6 separate regions of the Homo sapiens genome follow, and regions 2, 3, 4, 5 and 6 are each linked to region 1. Evidence: promoter capture Hi-C in human tissues and cell types (Jung and others, 2019). All regions are on one chromosome and are shown on one strand. The core of a region is centred on a gene start or on the middle of the fragment in contact, and the rest is flanking DNA. Distances in the headings are between cores, read along the strand shown. Region 1 holds the start of CAPZA3 (capping actin protein of muscle Z-line subunit alpha 3). Region 2 has its middle 5.6 kb from the start of PIK3C2G. Region 3 overlaps PLEKHA5 (pleckstrin homology domain containing A5). Region 4 overlaps PIK3C2G (phosphatidylinositol-4-phosphate 3-kinase catalytic subunit type 2 gamma). Region 5 overlaps PIK3C2G (phosphatidylinositol-4-phosphate 3-kinase catalytic subunit type 2 gamma). Region 6 overlaps PIK3C2G (phosphatidylinositol-4-phosphate 3-kinase catalytic subunit type 2 gamma).

Region 1 (3,145 bases), core at 223-2,722:
AAGGCATGAAGTTGGAAGGCAGCTAGACTTCAAGATCGCCTCTCACCTGACCTCTCTGTTTTAGTTCTCTCTTCCAGAAAGGTGAGCAAATTAACCCTGAATCTTAAGGAAAGTGGAAGCATTAGATGAATTCCTAATATGCCACCGAACACAGTTTCTGCTACTTAGTGTTCAATAAATAGTAACCATGACTGATAAAGTTATTATTACTACATTAGTCCAATGCCCAGCTACACACACACTCAAGACAGTACCATCAAAAAGCATCAGAAATACCATGGTGAGTGTATATTTGGTATGAAAAACGAAAAAAATTTTTAAAAGCTTACTTATCATAGATAAACTACAAAAACTAGGACACTTCCATTTGAAAAACTAAGATCGAAATGAGATAATGACAATTATCACTAAAATTATAAAAGGTATAGGTAAAAATTGTGCAAAACTACTAAGTTTCAGATTGTTAGAACGAATTAATGAGATCTCCTTAAATTTAATAGTTATGACTTAATCCAGCAAAGCTCATGTTCTTGTAAGAAAAAGATACCAGAATGCAGGGAAAGTTAGAAAAGCTCAGAACAAACAGGGAAAAGCAGTTCAACTTAAATGAAGAGGACTTAAATTCAGAACTCCTCGAAAAGAATAACAGCATCAAGTAAAGAGGATAAGTAGGAGAAAGAAGAAGAGGAGCAGAAAGAAGCTCTCAATGGATATCTCATTTCCATAGTTTCATGACCTGTAGAGCCGTTTCTCCTCACTTAGAAGTCTTTCCCCAGTAGGTGCTGTCATGGGTTCCAAATACAATTAACTCTGCCCCTTTGCAGAAAATAATTTCTTGATACTCATCAGCTGTTACCACTTTTCTAGGGAGAAAGCAGAGAACACACAGTGGTTTTTTTTGCCTTCGTTCTTTGAAGCTAGCTCACACTTAACCATAGAAACAGTATGCAAGATGTGGTACCTGCACTACCCTGCCCTTGAAACTGTTTGGCTTCTTACGTTCTGACCACCTCCAAACCCACAATATTTGAAAACACAGCTTTCCCTGATGTCTGGCATTTTTCCATGAACTGCCATTGTATCTCCTTTTATTTTTTACTACTTTGTTTAAACCCCTCAAACCTTTCATCATAATATGCTTCCAGTGGGTTTGGGCAGCTACTCTGAGAGCCTGAGTATAAATCAACACCATTGTGATTCCTGAAGTTGCAAAGTGCTGTCACTCTTGAAACTTTGGGCTGCTTCTCTAGATCGTTGACAACATATAATGCACACAGAGACACACCACTTTCGAAGAAGACTGTTCAGGAGGCTAAGTTCTTAAAATCTTCAAAAGAGGTATAGCTGGTTGGCTGGGCACCACACTGTCAGGTGACTGTCATTTTTTCCTTTTGGTCTGAATTCCCATTGTGATATCATCAGAGGTTCCACACTTCACAAGGAAAGCTTCTTATGACCTCATCAGGAGGCTCAGACCTTGCCAGACTGCCTGCTTTCATGGATAGACATAAAAACCTTCAGCTTGAATGTTAACACCTTGATGGGAAAGGTGGCTCATGGAATGTTTTCTTATCCTTTGAACACTCCTCATTTCAGAAGCTTTGCTTCTGTTGCAACCAAACATGACACTTAGCGTGCTGAGCAGGAAGGACAAGGAAAGAGTAATTCGCAGACTGTTATTACAGGCCCCTCCAGGGGAATTTGTAAATGCCTTTGATGATCTCTGTCTGCTTATCCGTGATGAAAAACTTATGCACCACCAAGGTGAGTGTGCAGGCCACCAACACTGCCAAAAATATTCTGTACCACTCTGCATCGATGGAAATCCAGTACTCTTGTCTCACCACAATGTAATGGGCGACTACCGATTTTTTGACCATCAAAGCAAACTTTCTTTCAAATATGACCTGCTTCAAAATCAGCTGAAAGACATCCAAAGTCATGGTATCATTCAGAATGAGGCAGAATACCTGAGAGTTGTTCTTCTGTGCGCCTTAAAACTGTATGTGAATGACCACTATCCAAAAGGAAATTGCAACATGCTGAGAAAAACTGTCAAAAGTAAGGAGTACTTGATAGCTTGCATTGAAGATCACAACTATGAAACAGGAGAGTGCTGGAACGGACTTTGGAAATCTAAATGGATTTTCCAAGTTAACCCATTTCTAACCCAAGTAACGGGAAGAATATTTGTGCAAGCTCACTTCTTCAGGTGTGTCAACCTTCATATTGAAATATCCAAGGACCTGAAAGAAAGCTTGGAAATAGTTAACCAAGCTCAACTGGCTCTAAGTTTTGCAAGGCTTGTGGAAGAGCAAGAGAACAAATTTCAAGCTGCAGTCTTGGAAGAATTACAGGAGTTATCCAATGAAGCCCTGAGAAAAATTCTACGAAGGGATCTTCCAGTGACCCGCACTCTTATTGACTGGCACAGGATACTCTCTGACTTGAATCTGGTGATGTATCCTAAATTAGGATATGTCATTTATTCAAGAAGTGTGTTGTGCAACTGGATAATATAAAGAATTGCTCCTGGTAACTATCTTGATTTGACTTGTTTGTGTTTCTTGGGAATGGTTATTTTCCTAAAATTGAGCAATCTGTAGAGATGTCTCTCACTTAGCCAATGCAAATTTAAATGGGAAAAGTGTAGCAAGTAATTTTACTTGGGGAATATTTATGAACAAGGCAAGAAAGTGTAAAGTAACTGTGTTTCATGGTGGTGACCATCATAAAGACCAAGACATTTGTTAGAAACTAAAATAGTTTTATAGAATCTGGGATTCCAGAAATAGTATAGAGGTGGCCAGGGTTAAGGCTGTGTGTGGGTGTGTACGTGTGTGTGTGTGTGTGTGTGTGTGTGTGTGAGAGAGAGAGAGAGAGAGAGAGAGAGACTTTTGACTGTTTCGAACTGAAAAGGTATACAAATGAATATCACTCCACAAATGATATTTTACATAACTCAATTCAGTCCTAGACCATCCACGAGATGGGGAATTTCAATAAAAGACATTAGGTTTGGATTTTCCACAAAACCAACAGATATCAAAAATCTAGCTCAGATGAAGGACTATTAGTAATTTTGGCTCCTCTTCCACTCTACTTTCTTCCCCTCAAGAATTGGGGTTACTCAAAATCCCTGGCT
Region 2 (3,145 bases), core at 263-2,762, 480 kb before region 1:
GACCACTGTTTCTTGGCTCTTTACCAAACCATGTGGAGAGCTGTAGGAATCTCGAAGATGTGAATCTGTTTATTTAAATTAATCTAATGATTAGTAGCATTAATATTCAATAGATGACTTGTTTATTTTCATATTCTCTGGGGAAAGTTATTTATAAACATATATATTTTATTATAATTTTTTAATATCAAGTTTTTGTAATATTTGTAATATTCTCATTTTGGACCTGCACCTAAAAATAGTCAGTTTGGGCTGGGCGTGGTAGCTCACACCTGTAATCCGAGCACTTTGGGAGGCCAAGGCAGGTGGATCATGAGGTCAAGAGATTGAGACTATCTTGGCAAACATGGTGAAACCCAGTCTGTACTAAAAGTGCAAAAATTAGCTGGGCATGGTGGCATGTGCCTGTAGTTCCAGCTACTCCAGCTACTCGGGAGGCCGAGGCAAGAGAATTGCTTGAACCCGGGAGGCAGAGGTTGGAGTGAGCCAAGATTGCACCATTGAACTCCAGCCTAGGTGACAGAGTGAGACTCTGTCTCAAAATAATAATAATAATAATAATTTCTTAATTTAAAAAATTTAAATTTTCACTTAAAAATTTAAAAAAAGAAAGAGGCCTGGGCTCAGTGGCTCAGGCCGGGCGCAGTGGCTCACCCCTGTAATCCCAGCACTTTGGGAGGCTGAGACGGGCAGATCACCTGAGGTTGGGAGTTTGAGACCAGCCTGACCAACATGGTGAAACCCCGTCTGTACTAAAAGTACAAAATTAGTCGGGCACATGCCTGACCAGCTACTTGGGAGGCTGAGGCAGGAGAATCACTTGAACTCAGGAAGTGGAGATTGCGGTGAGCTGAGATCGCACCGTTGCACTCCAGCCTGGGCAATGAGTGAAACTCCGTCTCAAAAATAAATAAATAAATAAATAAATAAATAAATAAATAAACAAACAAACAAACAAATAAATGAAAGAAAAAAAGAAATAGTTTGAGTCTATTCTGATTCTATTTTCTATAAGTAACTTTTTAAGAACAATAATTACTTGAATTTATGGCTACTGTAGGAGTTAATACAGTTTTGATCTAATTCTATAACAAAAGTACCCAAAATGCAGCCGTGTAAACAAGACAAAATTTCTCTCACTTGTGTTTTTACTTTCTTTCTTTTATATCTAAGATGACACTGAGAACCTATAATACAGCTTTGCCATGTTCAGCGCAAGGTTTCCTCACTATCTCCCAACTGGTTGATGGTGTGTGTGTTGAGGGCGAGGGAGCAGACAGGAGAGCGCACAGATAATTCTTTTAAGAACACAACTAGAATAATCAGGCATCGTTCCTCTCCATATTTCACTGACTGCAACCAGTAAGGTGCCCACATCTAGTTGAAAGAAAGGCTTGAAAAGATGGCCTTTGGCTAGTTAGCCATCATCAGGAAAGAAGACGGTAAAAAATACTGTGGAACAACTTGCAGTCAATTACCCAAATATCCAGGTATACAAGAAGAGGAAAAGCACAGCTGTCATTTTTCAAGGCAATGATCAAATACCACTGGACAAGATTTTTGACCTCTTCTGCTATGGCAGTGAAATAATTTCCATGATTATCGAGGAAGAATTATGTTATCTTGGAGGAATTTATTGTCCCTTATTACTTATGGTTCCTATTTTCATTTCTCTATGAGATTATTTGTCCATTACTGCTATAGTAACCAAAACATTGTTTTGGTGTAATGTAAGTATTCAATAAATGAATTATCTATTCTAAATATGTATCCATTTTATTCTCAGAAGTATTTAATTACCCTGTAATTATTTTGTAAGAAAGAACTAGAAAATATTCTCTCTTTGGAGCTGCGCATATTTTGTGATGTATATGCTGCAAAACCAGTAGTGGGGCATGGGAGATACTTTAAGTCAAACACAGATTGGCTTCTGCAGGTCAATGCAATTCTCTGAAAACCTTAGTCTGCTTTTGATCTAGTTGCTTCCAGTCAGATCCATGGGCAAATTATCATACCCAAAGACCTAACCCAGGCAGTGTTGCTATGCACGCAGACTATCTTCTTTTATTTACTGGTTTCTTTGCTTAGCACATTCTGCTCTCCTTCGGTTTATGGGTGTCTACTTTGAAGCTACCTGAAAATATTAGTTTAGGCAGGAAAGCATCACTCTCAGCCTAACCTTCGAAACTATAAAGAACTTCAATTAACTGAGAGGTTTTAATGTGGGCACTTGAAAAAGTCAGAGGCCTATTTACTGCCGGCCCTCCTTTTTTAGAGTCACCTCTAGCCCGAGTACGTATTGTCACAGAACTTTGCACAAGAATCTTCCTCAGCAGTTCACAGAGGTTACGTGTTCTTCTGGCAAGTAATCTCCCTTTTTAAGGATTGCAAATGACAGTTTTATGAAATGCTTTATCATAAAGTAATGAGAATTACTAACTTTCTAGCCTGCAATATCTGTGTTCTCTCCCACTCTCAATCCTTAGACCAAAGCTTCATTTTTTTTATTATGCTAGAGTACACTTCTAGTAACCAAGTCATGTTTCATTTAAGATTAGATGTCATTAAAACATAGAAAGAGACCCTAAAACACAGCATTTTATACTAGATAAAAATTTATGTCTCACTAAATATCAAGTGGTAGGTTACTTGTTGTTGGCAGGACAACTCTTCCGTTCTCAATATGTCACTTCTGTCTCTGGATTCAGGGAAACAGCTTTTGCCATGCCTGACACAACTATCAGAAAGAGGGAAAGGTTCCAGAATATTGCATGCTTTAATCTTTAAGGACAAAGCCTTAAGTACCAAATATGTTCTGTTTAAATTCCATGGTCTAGAGCTTAGACACATGGTCCTACCTCTCAAAAGGGAGGTTGAAAAAGGAAGTCTTAAGTTGGATGGGCATGTGACCAGTTGAAACTCTATTGTGGAAACAGGTTAAGAAAAGATACGGGGTGACAATTCTCGGTTTGATGCAATACTGTTATTCAGAAACAAATCTAAATATTTAAAGCAGGAAAGATTCATTTAACACAGAGAATAAACTACTTTTTGCAATAATGATAGGAAGAGCCACAGTTGTGGGCTCTAGGCTGGAACACAGCACAGGAGAACTGACACACCCAGGGACTGAGATCACCACTGG
Region 3 (3,145 bases), core at 377-2,876, 400 kb after region 1:
GTGTCATTTACTATTCCTTTGTGCTTCAAAGCTTTAAGATGGTTAACTTAGAGTGCCAAGTAAATCTTAAGGCTCTCTGAATAGTGAGAAACTTTATTCTGATTATTTAAAGGTCATTGCAGGACTGGGTATCAAAACAATATTTGCGGGGGTAAAATAGTATGCAAATTTTTTAAGGTTATGTTTTCATACTGCTTTTTTTAACTTAAAATTCTAAGTTCTGAAAATTGAACTTTTTCTTACATAGGCAAATAGAGTATGAGGTTTTGTTTCAATATCTGCAATAGCTGGATCTAATGTATGCTAATTCCAAACTTACCAAAACTAGCGTTGCAAGTAAGGAGAAAAATCTGTTTCTTCAGATTTTCACAATTCAAAATATGAATGAAGATGGGGAATCTAACAAGTGCCATAAAAAACATTAGAATATATTAACTATGTATTTGATATTTAAAGTTGTTTTATACTTTACTTTTTTTTTTTCTTTGAGACGGAGTTTCACTCTTGTTGCCCAGGCTGGCATGATCTCAGCTCACGCAACGTCCACCTCCCGGGTTCAAGCAGTTCTCCTGCCTCAGTCTCCCAAGTAGTTGAGATTACAGGTGCCCACCACCACCACGCCTGGCTAATTTTTTGTATTTTTAGTAGAGAAGGGGTTTCGCCACGTTGGCCAGGCTGGTCTCAAACTCCTGACCTCAGGTGATCCGCCCACCTCGGCGTCCCAAAGTGCTGGGATTACCACCACCCCTGGCCAAAAACTGTTTTATACTTTCTATAATAATATAACCAAATTTTGATTACTAGAGCTATATAATTCTTTAGAACACTTTGTGGGCATTATATTTCTTTTCCATATTTATAACAAGAGTTTTGGACTGTTAATATGTGATTCCTTACATTGATAAAGCACTTTATGCTAATTCATTAGTTACAAAACAACTACGAACTATGATCTCAGCTTTCAAGGAGTTTGTAGTGTAGAGATAAATATGCAGTATATTAAAACAGGGAGATGGTTTGGGGAACATAGACTTATTTAGTGCTAGGCACTTCAGCATAGCATTAAACTCCTATAATCCTCACAATAGCCTTTTTGTTGTTGTTGTCTCTTTCGTTTTCAAGTTGGTGTGCCAGGACTACCAGCCTCAGTAGACTTTGTTGTGGAATTCTTTTATTTTTAGCCCCAGGACCACTGCTTAGGGCCAGGTTTGCTCAATATCCTCCTTGTATTTCCTGTGATGCCCAGCATCTAGTCAGCCTCTAAAGAAGTGGTATCTGTGATGATGATGATGCTGGCTCCTAGTTATTTAAGGAGTTAATCAAGATGGGGAAAGAATAGTCCCCACAACTCAAGTGGTTGCATTTTAAGAACACTTTCTGGATTTGTCAAGGGACTTTTTCTTCCCTAATCTGGATAGACCCCTTCGTTTCTTCTTATTCTCAAAGCTGGCCTATATTTAGGAAGGGGGAGGAAGTGGTCAATACAAAAACACAAAAAGTATTGGAAGAGTTGAAGAGTCGATGACCTGGAGACAGGGCCTTACATAGGACCTGTCTGTCCTATACAGGATGGAATTTCTTTGAATTTGTTAGCAGATGCTCTTTTCTTGTGACTGTTTCATTTTTTTAAATAACAGATAAATATAAGATGAAATTAAGGGTGAAAAGTTATGTGTATATGTGTATGTGTAAGTTAGAGTTAATGGTGTAAAAAAATGGCACGGCATGGTGGCTCATGCCTGTAATCCTAGCACCTTGGGAGGCTGAGGCAGGCGGATCACTTGAAGTCAGGAGTTTGAGACCAACCTGGCTAACATGGTAAAACCCTGTCTCTACTAAAAATACAAAAATTAGCCGGGTGTGGTGGCGGGCTCCTGTAGTCCCAGCTACTCGGGAGGCTGAGGCAGGAGAATCGCTTGAACCCAGGAGGGAGAGGTTGCAGTGGGCCGAGATCACGCCACTGCACTCCAGCCTGGGTGACAGAGTAAGACTCTGTCTCAAAAAAAAAAAAAAAAGAAGATGCTAGTTTGAGTCATAAGAATTCAGAGGAGGAAGAGGCAGCCTAGGCTGGGCTGCCCTGGAACGACTTGAAGAGGTGGGAGTTGAGCTAGGCCTGAGGGTATAGATGGGATTCACTTTCAGATGAGTTGATAAGACTGGGAGGATACATTCATGGGGCTGGGAACACGTATAATATGTGAATATGTGTGATGAGTAATACTAACTAGGCTTGTTAGTGATGGTTCTGTAGAAAATGCTAGGATGATGGGAGGTGAGTCTAGGAATGCTGTTTGGAACCATACTGTGTCCGGTCTTTGAATGTCAGGCTGAGGTTTTTATTTTCCGGGCAAGCCTTTGCAGATGTTTTTTAGTATAGCGTTAATTATGCAACATGAAGGTTTTAGGGAGATTTCAATACAGGCAGCATGGATTGGACAGGAGCAAAGTGGGAATCAAGGAGACCATTTCTGAGTCTGTTGCCATAATTGGGTAGTTACTTGAACTAAGTTTGTGGCAGCGGGAATGGAAAGGAAAGGCCATTGATCAAAGATGTTAAAGACGAGCTGACAGGCCTTAGGAGTCTTGCTGAGCAAGGAGGTTGACAGAAAAAAAGAGGTCAAAAGCTCCTCAAAGCCTTTGTGTCTGAGTGTCTACAAGAATGATGATGAGACCCTTGACCGGAATAAAGGAGTAGGTGTGGGAGGGGGAGCCCCAGGTGGACATATTAATGGTGGTTTGGTTTTTGAGCTGCTTGAGAGGACATAGCATTTCAGGTGGCTAAAATCCGACTTTCACAAAGGACTCCTGACATTATCTTTTTACTCCCCTCAAAAAGCAAACACAACCCACTCCCCTATCCTATCTCAGCTACCTAAATGACTATCTAGCTATTTATAGATTCAGGCTGGGAATTTCATATTCATCCATCTAATTATTCATTCAACAAATGCTTATTGAATATTTACTGTGTGCCAAGTGCTTTAAGCTTTATGAATGAAACAGACATGGACACTACTCTTAAGAACTTTATAGTTGAATTAGTGGGGGAGCCAGTAATAAAATAATCATGCAAATATGTAAGATAGACTGTGATAAATGCTATGAAGAATATCTAATGTTTTGACTACGTATATTGAAAGGCCTT
Region 4 (3,145 bases), core at 347-2,846, 340 kb before region 1:
CATACTATTTTTGTACTCCTCACTTTGAAGATTTTATTAGTTTTATGGCTTCTTCCATTAACTGATGTGTGCTCGGATGCCTACCTCTTTCTTTATATATATAATGGAATATATATATTTATATTTGTTTCTATTTGAGCTTGCAACTTTTTTCTTTTGTAAGCCTTCTTGTGTGGGGTCTTCTCTGACCTTGCCATGTAGAATTGATCACTCCTGGACTAGTACAGTGCTCTGTTACTTTACACATTGCATTTTATGGTAATGTGTTTATATGCAACAGGTAAAATGTGTATATTTTCACTCACATCTGACTCAGAGCTACTCAAGGCAAAACAGATCATCTCAATGTTTCTGTTTCCTGAAGGCTTAGTATTACCTAGGACGTAGTAATTCCTCAGTATTGAACCAATCACTTTCTAAGATGCATTATTATTATTTTTACAGTAGTTTAACTTTAAATTATAAGCAATTTGAGGATATTATCATTATTATTTATTTCCTACATGACTTTGTGCAGTTGCATTAGTTAATAAAATAGTCATGTGGTAATTAACAATTGATTGGTTTCATTGGGATATTCACAATTCATCATGCTAGTGTTTAAAGATCCTTTTGGAAAAAAGGTCTCATTCCCAACATGATCCTACCCCTTTTTCTGGTTTAGATGTAAGAACAGCTAAAATCTGTAAAATTGTTATGCTAAATTCTAGCCGGTTTTTGCTGAAGTTAGACTTGGGCTATTAGCACAATTATTATTTTGTCATTCTTGAGTTGATTAACTAATAGAGAATTCATTCAAAATGTGACAGTCACAACTGACAGAATAAGAGAAAATAAATATCTGACAAGGAAATTTTATTCAAAACATATAAAGACTCTTAAAACTCAACAATAGAAAGATAAATAACCCAACTGTAAAATGGACAAAGGCTCTGCATGGGCATTTCTCCAAAGAAAATACACAAATGCCGAACATTTACATGAAAATATGCTCAATATCATTAGCCATTAAGGAAATAAAAATGAAAATCACCTAACACCTAAGATACCATACTCACTAGGTCTGGCTATAATCAAAAGATACAAAAAGGACAAAAAATAAAAAGTGTTGATGAGGATATGGAGAAATTGGAAACCTCATTTACCTCTGGTGGGAATGCAAAATTGTGTAGCCAATTGGAAAACAGTGTGACAGTTTCTTAAGTGTTAAACCCAGAGTTACTATATGACCCAACAATCTTACTATGAAGTATATACTCAAGATAAATTTAAAAATATGCCCACTCAAAAACTCATGCACGCATGTTTGTAACAACATTATTCACAATAGCCAAAAAGTAGAAACAATCCAAATATCCACCAACTAATCAATAGATATGTAAAATGTGATCTATCCATACAACATAATATTATTTGATAATAAAAAGGAATGAATACTGATATATGCTACAACATGGAAGGACCTTGACAGCATTATGCTAAGTGAAAGAAGCCAGTTACAGAAGACCACATATGGTATGATTCCACTTGTATGAAATGTGCAGAATAGGCAAAGCTCTACAGACAGAAAGTAAATTAGCAGTAACCCAGAGCGAGGGCAAGTTGGGAGAAAATGGAGATTGACTGCTAATGGGTATGAGGTTTCCTTTTGTGGTTATAATTGATATAATTGTTGCACAAATCTGGAAACATGCTAAAAACATTGAATTGTGCACTTTAAATGGGGTGGATTGTATGGTATTTCAATATCGTGGTAAAGGTGTTTAAAATTTTTGAGAAAATAATTGTGAAGGTAATATCTATGAATCTCTCTAATATCTTTAAAGAATAATTTTCTAACAAGATAACTTTCCAAAGTTTAAAGTTCATGGAATATTTTTTAGAAAAATCTTTAATAGAATGAGATTGTAATACTGCTCTGTTTACTCACTTATTAAATAAGAGGATTAGCTGGATGAACTTCAATATCCTCTGATCCCTGATAACTAAGCAGAATTATGCTTCGTGAGTCTTCTTTATCTAAACAGATCTTCAAAATCTGTTTGGCTCATTCAATGTTTTATGTGTCCAGATAAAATTTTTACTTAGTGCCCCTTAGTACTATCTCATATTAACATCCATAACAACCTTATGATGGAAATACTATTATTATTCCTATTTTACATATGAGGAAACTGAGGCCTATAGAGGTTATGTTGCCTCAAGTGCCCTGTAAGTTGAAAACCTGGGAATCAAATCCAGGCATTCATGAGAGCTTATAATCTGAACCATTCTGTTTAAAGCCTTCCTGCATAAACATGCTAGGCTATTTACATATGAAATATCTTGGCTATCCTAAACGGTTTTTTAAAATTGTAAATAGGAGCACTTAGCGATCTCGGTCATGCTCAGATGTTTCTACTTCACTGTGTAATTTCTTTTTTTCTGAATAATCAGATTTTTAGAGGTTATGGGGACTGATTTTAAAGTAGAAGGTGTTTATTAAACTTCATTCAGGGAACTTAGTAGAATCCTGATTTATTTACACACTGGAAAGTTTCTTATCATGCACCAAATAAGGTCACTGCAAATGTTGGAGTATTTCCATTGTACTCATCCTCTGACTCCCACTCTCAGTTTTACTGAACTATTAAAAAACTTGAGGACAAGCTGTTTCCAGAAATGAACCTTTCAACTCCTCTAAATTAAAAAGCTGACTTTTCTGAGAACAAACAGTATGTGCTTATTAAGTGAGTTGTCAGAGTGAGTACTTGAGAGATCTATATTTTTCCTCCTTTGAACAATCTATTTTTTTAAATGGTTTAACCTCTTGACAACTGGTGTGCTCCATTTCCAGCTTGGGGAGTTTTTAATATTGCTATTTACTTAATCTGTCCAAAGGTTCACCATCTCCTTTTACTTTAATTTTAGCAAGAGGCATGATGAAATTTAATTTACCTAGGATGGGCCATACAGTGTTAATATTTCTACTACTGAGTGCCAGCAGAGAGCTCCCTGGGTACTGATAACTTCCATTAGAGAAGGGGGTGCTGTCAGGAAAACAGAGACCAAGGGCTAAGGTCTGTGGTTCCTGGCAGATGGTTGCTATTTTCCTGAACCCTCATTCCCAGGCACAACTATTCAACTGCTAATAACAAGCAAAAAT
Region 5 (3,145 bases), core at 423-2,922, 310 kb before region 1:
TTAACTAAATCAGGCAAGGATGCCTTTTTAATTGCCACCTTCTCTATGGGGCAGCTTTAGAGGAAGCAGAATATTTCTTTACCTTATAATTGATACAGACCATAAAATTCAGGCAGTTTTGAGTCTTTGTCAATGTCATTTTTATTTAAGAGGATAATGTGTCATCATTTTCAAAATCTACCAGTTGGACAGTTGCTACTGTTAATCAGGAAGTTAAATCCAAACAGAATTTCAAATCTGAATGATGCCTTTCTTGTAGCTTTAAATGACAAGTGCAATTTGTATATCTACTCCTTGAAGATTTTAATGTAAAATCTAGTTATGAGACTGAATGTTTTTGGAAGAATATGTGGTATAAAAATACTTTCTGTGCAATATTAGTTATAAACCATAAAATTCAAAGGCTAATGTATACTCATTCTGTTGAAAATTTCTAGAGCACTAAACTTTTCCCAAAGCATAAATTTGAAATATTATTAGTGAAGAAATAAGACTGATTCATAAGATGCCAGAATGTCTATAGCAACACCTGAGGATATTAGCATTTCAGTTTCCCCATAGTTTCTGCCAGAACTTAGCTTCTGTACATCAACCCCACTATTCCTTCACACACCGAATTAAGATTGTCAAAAGATGCTATTCCTGAGAAGGCTTGTCAGTTGGACAGTTGCTAGTGGAGACTAACGAATGCTAAAGGTGAAGTAGAAGAAGTTCAAGGACCTGGATTAGCTTGTGAATTTCCAGTCATCAGCCCAGGCTGGGTATATGACTGGAGCAGCTGTACCACATTCTCTACAACACCACGATATATGGAAGGGTATTATACCTACCATTTCCTGTACTTTAAATATCTTTAATGTTGCCATTCTCCAATTCCATATGGCATGTCCAACGTTCAGGGTGTCTATAGTATGATTGGAAATGGGTCCTGATGAATATGAAGAGATGGAAGAGAAAGATGAGGGGGAGGAGAAAAAATGATAATGATGATGCTGATGATGATTCAGCAGATATGGATGAATCAGAAGAAGATGAGGAGAAAGAGAGAGTAGAGTCTTTGATGTTCCCATTTGTAGATGCCACTGCTCGTGCCTTTTTTAGCAAGCCTTCTGCTGATGGAAGCATTGGGATGATTCTAGTCTGCTAAATAGATTTCTCAATAATGTAAATAACTAAATTATTCTCAGCATATAGCAGGAAAACCAGAATGAAATATTGTTCCAGGCCCTGTGTTCTGTATGACATTACATTAGGAATTGGATTGTTTTGGTTTGTTTTGTGTTTTTGAAGTAAAGAAGGAAATGGGTTGCTTTTTTTCTCTAGCTAAAGGACAGACATTTCTTTTTTTTTTTTTTTTTTTTTTTTGAGTCGGAGTCTCACTTTGTCACCAGGCTGGAGTGCAGTGGTGCAATCTCAGCTCACTGCAACCTCCAACTCTCTGGTTCAAGCGATTCTTCTGCCTCAGCCTCCCGAGTAGCTGGGACTACAGGCACACACCACCACGCCTGGCTAATTTTTGTATTTTTGGTAGAGACAGGGTTTCACCACATTGGCCAGGATTGTCTTCATCTCTTGACCTCATGATCTGCCTGCCTTGGCCTCCCAAAGTGCTGGGATTACAGGTGTGAGACACCAAGCCCAGCTGACATTTCTTCCTTTTAAAATATTTTATACTTAAAAACATAGAGAAATGGAGAGAGAATTGTTTTGAATAAGGATTTAAAGTGTAGCAGAAATACCTACACAAGGGTAGATAAATACCATGTGACTGAATGATTCTGTGAAAAGATTTCCTGAAGTTAAGAGTTATTTATAAATGAAATAAAATTTCTAATTAGGCCAATCCATGTAGTGATTTCTTATATTTTGTACTCACAGAGAACTAATTGGATAAATAACTTGAATGCTAGTGGTTTGTCCTTTCTTACACAATATATCCTTGGATTTAAAGTCTTTGTCATCAAGACCTTGACTTTGAATTTTTCATCACTACAACCTTGAATTTAATTTCAAGTCTTCAACATGATGACCTTGAATTTAAAGTCTTCAACACTATGACCTTTATCATATTATTCATAGATGCATCATTTTTGAAATGTAGTATGTAAAAGTATTTATGGGTTGTTTATTAACAAAAAAAATTCTTTGCGATGTCTCATGTGGTTTAAAATTACTATTTCTGTTTTGTTTCTCCTTTATACACTTGACTATCTAACTTTGTGATAAGTGACATGAATTTTATGTTAGGATTAAGTGTGTTTTCCTGAAACATTGATTTTTTTTTGTGATTATATAATTGAGAGTTAAGAATAAAATCCTTCTAATGTTAAAAACTCACTTATTAAAAACAAATTTTGGTTCCAATCCTGTTTTCAAAAAACGATTTATCCTATTATCACCTACACTTGATTCTATTGAACATAATATTCTTTGCATACTGTTCTTCCTACTTTCCTTTGTATTGTTAACCTTGTTGATTCAATTTTAATTTCATAGGACAAAGTTTTAACAATTATAAGTTTCAATGACCTAAGGATAAAATTAGATCTATGTTTTACTCTCCTGAATGTATGACAGGCATCATTTAGTTGCTTTGATTGATAGTTAAGACCACTAAATAACAGGAAAACAGCAAGTCAATATCATTTTGGAGTGTCATATTTTTCTGCTTCAAGAAATGTTACTCATAATGAGATCACTCTTCTCATGAAAATCACTCAAGAAGATGTAGCAAAGAAGATACACAGGAACTTGGTCGGAGACTGTTTGATTTGATGCTTATTTTCATTTTAAATGCCTAATTTAAAAAGCAGAACAATTCCTCTAGCATGTTATTATAATAAAACATAAGATACATTGACTGGCATGAGGCCCTTCCATGAATAGACTCTTATTAAAGCTCTGAATGAAGTCTTATTTTCTTCAGTTTTTCAGAAAGCTACTTTGGGGCAAAGGAAAGTTAAGTGGATACACTTTGTGGTGTTCTGCTGTCATATTAAATGTAAGACTCCATTAAACTCAATGTTTAATTCCCTTAAAACTTTACTGTTTTTTGCATGCATTATTAAAATGCACACATATTAAAAAAGTAACATAGCCAGATAACAATTTTTATTTTAATATTTGAACAAAAATATAAAAATAT
Region 6 (3,145 bases), core at 252-2,751, 290 kb before region 1:
AATATACAATACAGTGTTATTAACTATAGTCCTCATGTTGTACGTTAGATCTCTAGACTTATGCAGCATATACAACTGCATCTCTGTTCCCTTTACCTACATTGCCCCATTTCCTCTCCCTGTCCACATCCCACAACCACCATGCTATGTGTTGGACTTTCTTTTAGATCCCACATAAAAGTAAAATTGTACAGTATTTTTCTTTCTGTGTCTGGCTTATTTCATGTAATGTCCTTTAAGTTTATCCATGTTGTAGAAAATGGCAAGATTTCCTTTTTTAAGGCTGAATAATATTTTGTATCATTATATATATAATGAAATATTGTTACAAATTGAAAACATCTTATATTGAAACAAATTATATGTATATATTATACACACACATATATATATAATTGTGGTGGAGATATATCTCCACCACAATTAATTTATCCATCCTCCCCAACCACTGATGGACACTTAAGTTGTTTTTATTTCTTGGCTATTATGAATAAGGCTGCAATGAATGTGAGACTGCAGATATCTCTACGAGGGGTTGACTTTATTTATTTCTGGGTTCATACCTAGAAGAGGGATTGCTGGATCATATGGTAGTTCTATTTTTAATTTTTTGAGAAACTTCCATACTGTTTTCCATAATAGTTGTACCAATTTACATTTGCACCAACAGTGTATTGAGTCCTCTTGGTGCCATTGTTTAAAGTTAGTTTGACCATATATGCTTGCATTTATCTCTAGGCTCACTATTCTGTTCCATTGGTCTATGTCTCTGCTTTCATGCCAGTACCATACTGCTTTGATCATTATAGCTTTGTTTGCATATAACTCTTTTTTATTTTTATTATTTATTATTTTTTTTATTTTACTTTAAGTTCTGGGATACATGTGCTGAACATGCAGGTTTGTTACGTAGGTATACATGTGCCATGGTAGTTTGCTGCACCTATCAACACGTCATCTAGGTTTTAAGCTCCACATGCATTAGGTATCTGTCCTAATGCTCTCCCTCCCCTTGCCTTGCACCCCACAACAGGCCCCAATGTGTGATGTTCCCCTCCCTGTGTCCATGTGTTCTCATTGTTCAACTCCCACTTATGAGTGAAGACGTGGTATTTGGTCTCCTGTTCCTGAGTTAGTTTGCTGAGAATGATGGTTTCCAGCTTCGTCCATGTTCCTGCAAAGGACATGAATTCATTCTTTTTTATGGCTGCATAGTATTCTATGGTGTGTATGTATGCCACATTGTCTTTATCCAGTCTATCATTGATGGGCATTTGGGTTGGTTCCAAGTTTTTGCTATTATAAATAGTGCTGCAATAAATATACGTGTGCATGTGTCTTTATAGCAGAGTGATTTGTATTCCTTTGGGTATATACCCACTAATGGTATTTCTGGTCCTATATCCTTGAGGAATTGCCACACTGTCTTCCATAATGGTTGAACTAATTTACACTCCACCAACAGTGTAAAAGCATTCCTATTTCTCCACATCCTCGACAGCATCTGCTGTTTTCTGACTTTTTAATGATCGCCATTCTGACTGGCATGAGATGGTTTCTCATATGGTTTTGATTTGCATTTCTCTAATAACCAGTGATGAGCTTTTTTTCACGTTTTTTGGCCACATAAGTGTCTTCTGTTGAGAAGTGTCTGTTCATATCCTTTGCTCACTTTTTAATAGCGTTGTTTTTTATTTTTATTTTTGAGATGGAGTTTTGCTATTATTGCCCGGACTGCAGTGCAATGGCACAATCTCAGCTCACCGCAACCTCCACCTCCTGGGTTCAGGTGATTCTCCTGCCTCAGCATCCCAAGTAGCTGGGATTACAGGCATGTGCCACCACGCCTGGCTAATTTTGTATTTTTAGTAGAGATGAGGTTTCACCATGTTGGCCAGGCTGGTCTCGAACTCCCAACCTCAGGTGATCCACCCGCCTCAGCCTCCCAAAGGGCTGGGATCACAGGTGTGAGCCACCAGTCCTGCCTGTTGTTTGCTTTTTTCTTGTAAATTTGTTTAAGTTCCTTGTAGATTCTGGATATTAGACCTTCATCAGATGGGTAGATTGCAAAAATGTTCCCTCCTTCTGTACATTTCCTGTTCACTCTGATGACAGTTTCTTTTGCTGTGCAGAATCTTTAGTTTAATTGGATCCAATTTGTCAATGTTGGCTTTTGTTGCAATTGCTTTTGGTGTTTTAGTCATGAAGTCTTTGCTCGTGCCTATGTTCCTGAGTGGTATTGCTTAGGTTTTCTTCTAGGGTTTTTATGGTTTTAGATTTTAAGTCTTTAATCCATCTTGAGTTAATTTTTGTATAAGGTGTAAGGAAGGGGTCCCAGTTTCAGTTTTCTGCATATGGTTAGCCAGTTTTCCCAACACCATTTATTAAATAGGGAATCCTTTCACCATTGCTTGTTTTTGTCAGGTTTGTCAAAGATCAGATGGTAGTAGACGTGTGGTGTTATTTCTGAGGCCACTGTTCTGTTCCATTGGTCTATATATCTGTTTTGATACCAGTACCATGCTCTTTTGGTTACTGTAGCCTTGTAGTATAGTTTGAAGTCAGGTAGCACGATGCCTCCAGCTTTGTTCTTTTTGCTTAGGATTGTCTTGGTTATGCAGGCTCCTTTTTGGTTCCATATGAAATTTAAAATAGTTTTTCTAATTCTGTTAAGAAAGTCAATGGTAGCTTGATGGGAATAACATTGAATCTACAAATTACTTTGTGCAGTATGGCCATTTTCACGATATTGATTTTTCCTATCCATGAGCATGGAATTTCATTCCATTTGTTTGTGTCCTCTCTTATTTCCCTGAGCGGTGGTTTGTAGTTCTCCTTGAAGAGGTCCTTCACATCCCTTGTAAGTTATATTCCTAGGTATTTTATTTTCTTTGTAGCAATTGCGAGTGGGAGTTCACTCATGATTTGGCTCTATGCTTGTCTATTATTGCTGTGTAGGAGTGCTTGCGATTTTTGCAAATTCATTTTGAATCCTGAGACTTTGCTGAAGTTGCTTATCAGCTTAAGAAGTTTTTGGGCTCACACAATGGGGTTTTCTAAATATAATCATGTCATCTGCAAACAGAGACAATTTGACTTCCTCTCTTCCTATTTGAATATTGTTTATTTCTTTCTCTTGCCTGAT

The links. The method cuts DNA at HindIII sites, captures the fragments that hold promoters and counts their contacts. A contact is called where the count stands out against the background at its distance.
Region 2: a contact is called between a fragment that was not itself captured here and the fragment with the promoter of CAPZA3 in region 1, in 1 of the 25 tissues and cell types used here (dorsolateral prefrontal cortex).
Region 3: a contact is called between a fragment that was not itself captured here and the fragment with the promoter of CAPZA3 in region 1, in 1 of the 25 tissues and cell types used here (IMR-90 fibroblasts).
Region 4: a contact is called between a fragment that was not itself captured here and the fragment with the promoter of CAPZA3 in region 1, in 2 of the 25 tissues and cell types used here (dorsolateral prefrontal cortex and mesenchymal stem cells).
Region 5: a fragment that was not itself captured here is called in contact with the fragment with the promoter of CAPZA3 in region 1 in 1 of the 25 tissues and cell types used here (mesenchymal stem cells).
Region 6: a contact is called between a fragment that was not itself captured here and the fragment with the promoter of CAPZA3 in region 1, in 1 of the 25 tissues and cell types used here (spleen).

Annotation. Positions count from the first base shown.
Region 1 is chr12:18,736,647-18,739,791 of GRCh38, forward strand. It overlaps CAPZA3 (capping actin protein of muscle Z-line subunit alpha 3), which reads left to right and starts at 1,473. Exons shown (of 1, transcript NM_033328.3): 1 at 1,473-2,542. The coding sequence starts at 1,623. The coding sequence ends at 2,522. PLCZ1 (phospholipase C zeta 1) reads right to left here and starts at 1,366. Exons shown (of 15, transcript NM_033123.4): 1 at 1,286-1,366; 2 at 715-863. The coding sequence starts at 725. The HindIII fragment of the contact is 1,043 bases long and covers 886-1,928 here.
Region 2 is chr12:18,254,313-18,257,457 of GRCh38, forward strand. It overlaps a transcript of PIK3C2G not described here. Among named protein-coding and RNA genes, the nearest start is that of PIK3C2G, 5.6 kb to the right of the region's middle. The HindIII fragment of the contact is 4,949 bases long and covers 1-3,145 here.
Region 3 is chr12:19,136,574-19,139,718 of GRCh38, forward strand. All of the region lies in intron 3 of PLEKHA5 (pleckstrin homology domain containing A5), which reads left to right. Among named protein-coding and RNA genes, the nearest start is that of PLEKHA5, 8.4 kb to the left of the region's middle. The HindIII fragment of the contact is 4,345 bases long and covers 1-3,145 here.
Region 4 is chr12:18,400,773-18,403,917 of GRCh38, forward strand. All of the region lies in intron 16 of PIK3C2G (phosphatidylinositol-4-phosphate 3-kinase catalytic subunit type 2 gamma), which reads left to right. Among named protein-coding and RNA genes, the nearest start is that of PIK3C2G, 140 kb to the left of the region's middle. The HindIII fragment of the contact is 4,316 bases long and covers 1-3,145 here.
Region 5 is chr12:18,424,046-18,427,190 of GRCh38, forward strand. All of the region lies in intron 18 of PIK3C2G (phosphatidylinositol-4-phosphate 3-kinase catalytic subunit type 2 gamma), which reads left to right. All of the region lies in intron 2 of LOC124902891 (a long non-coding RNA gene), which reads right to left. Among named protein-coding and RNA genes, the nearest start is that of PIK3C2G, 160 kb to the left of the region's middle. The HindIII fragment of the contact is 5,095 bases long and covers 1-3,145 here.
Region 6 is chr12:18,448,439-18,451,583 of GRCh38, forward strand. The region is part of intron 18 of PIK3C2G (phosphatidylinositol-4-phosphate 3-kinase catalytic subunit type 2 gamma); the gene reads left to right. Among named protein-coding and RNA genes, the nearest start is that of PIK3C2G, 190 kb to the left of the region's middle. The HindIII fragment of the contact is 6,030 bases long and covers 1-3,145 here.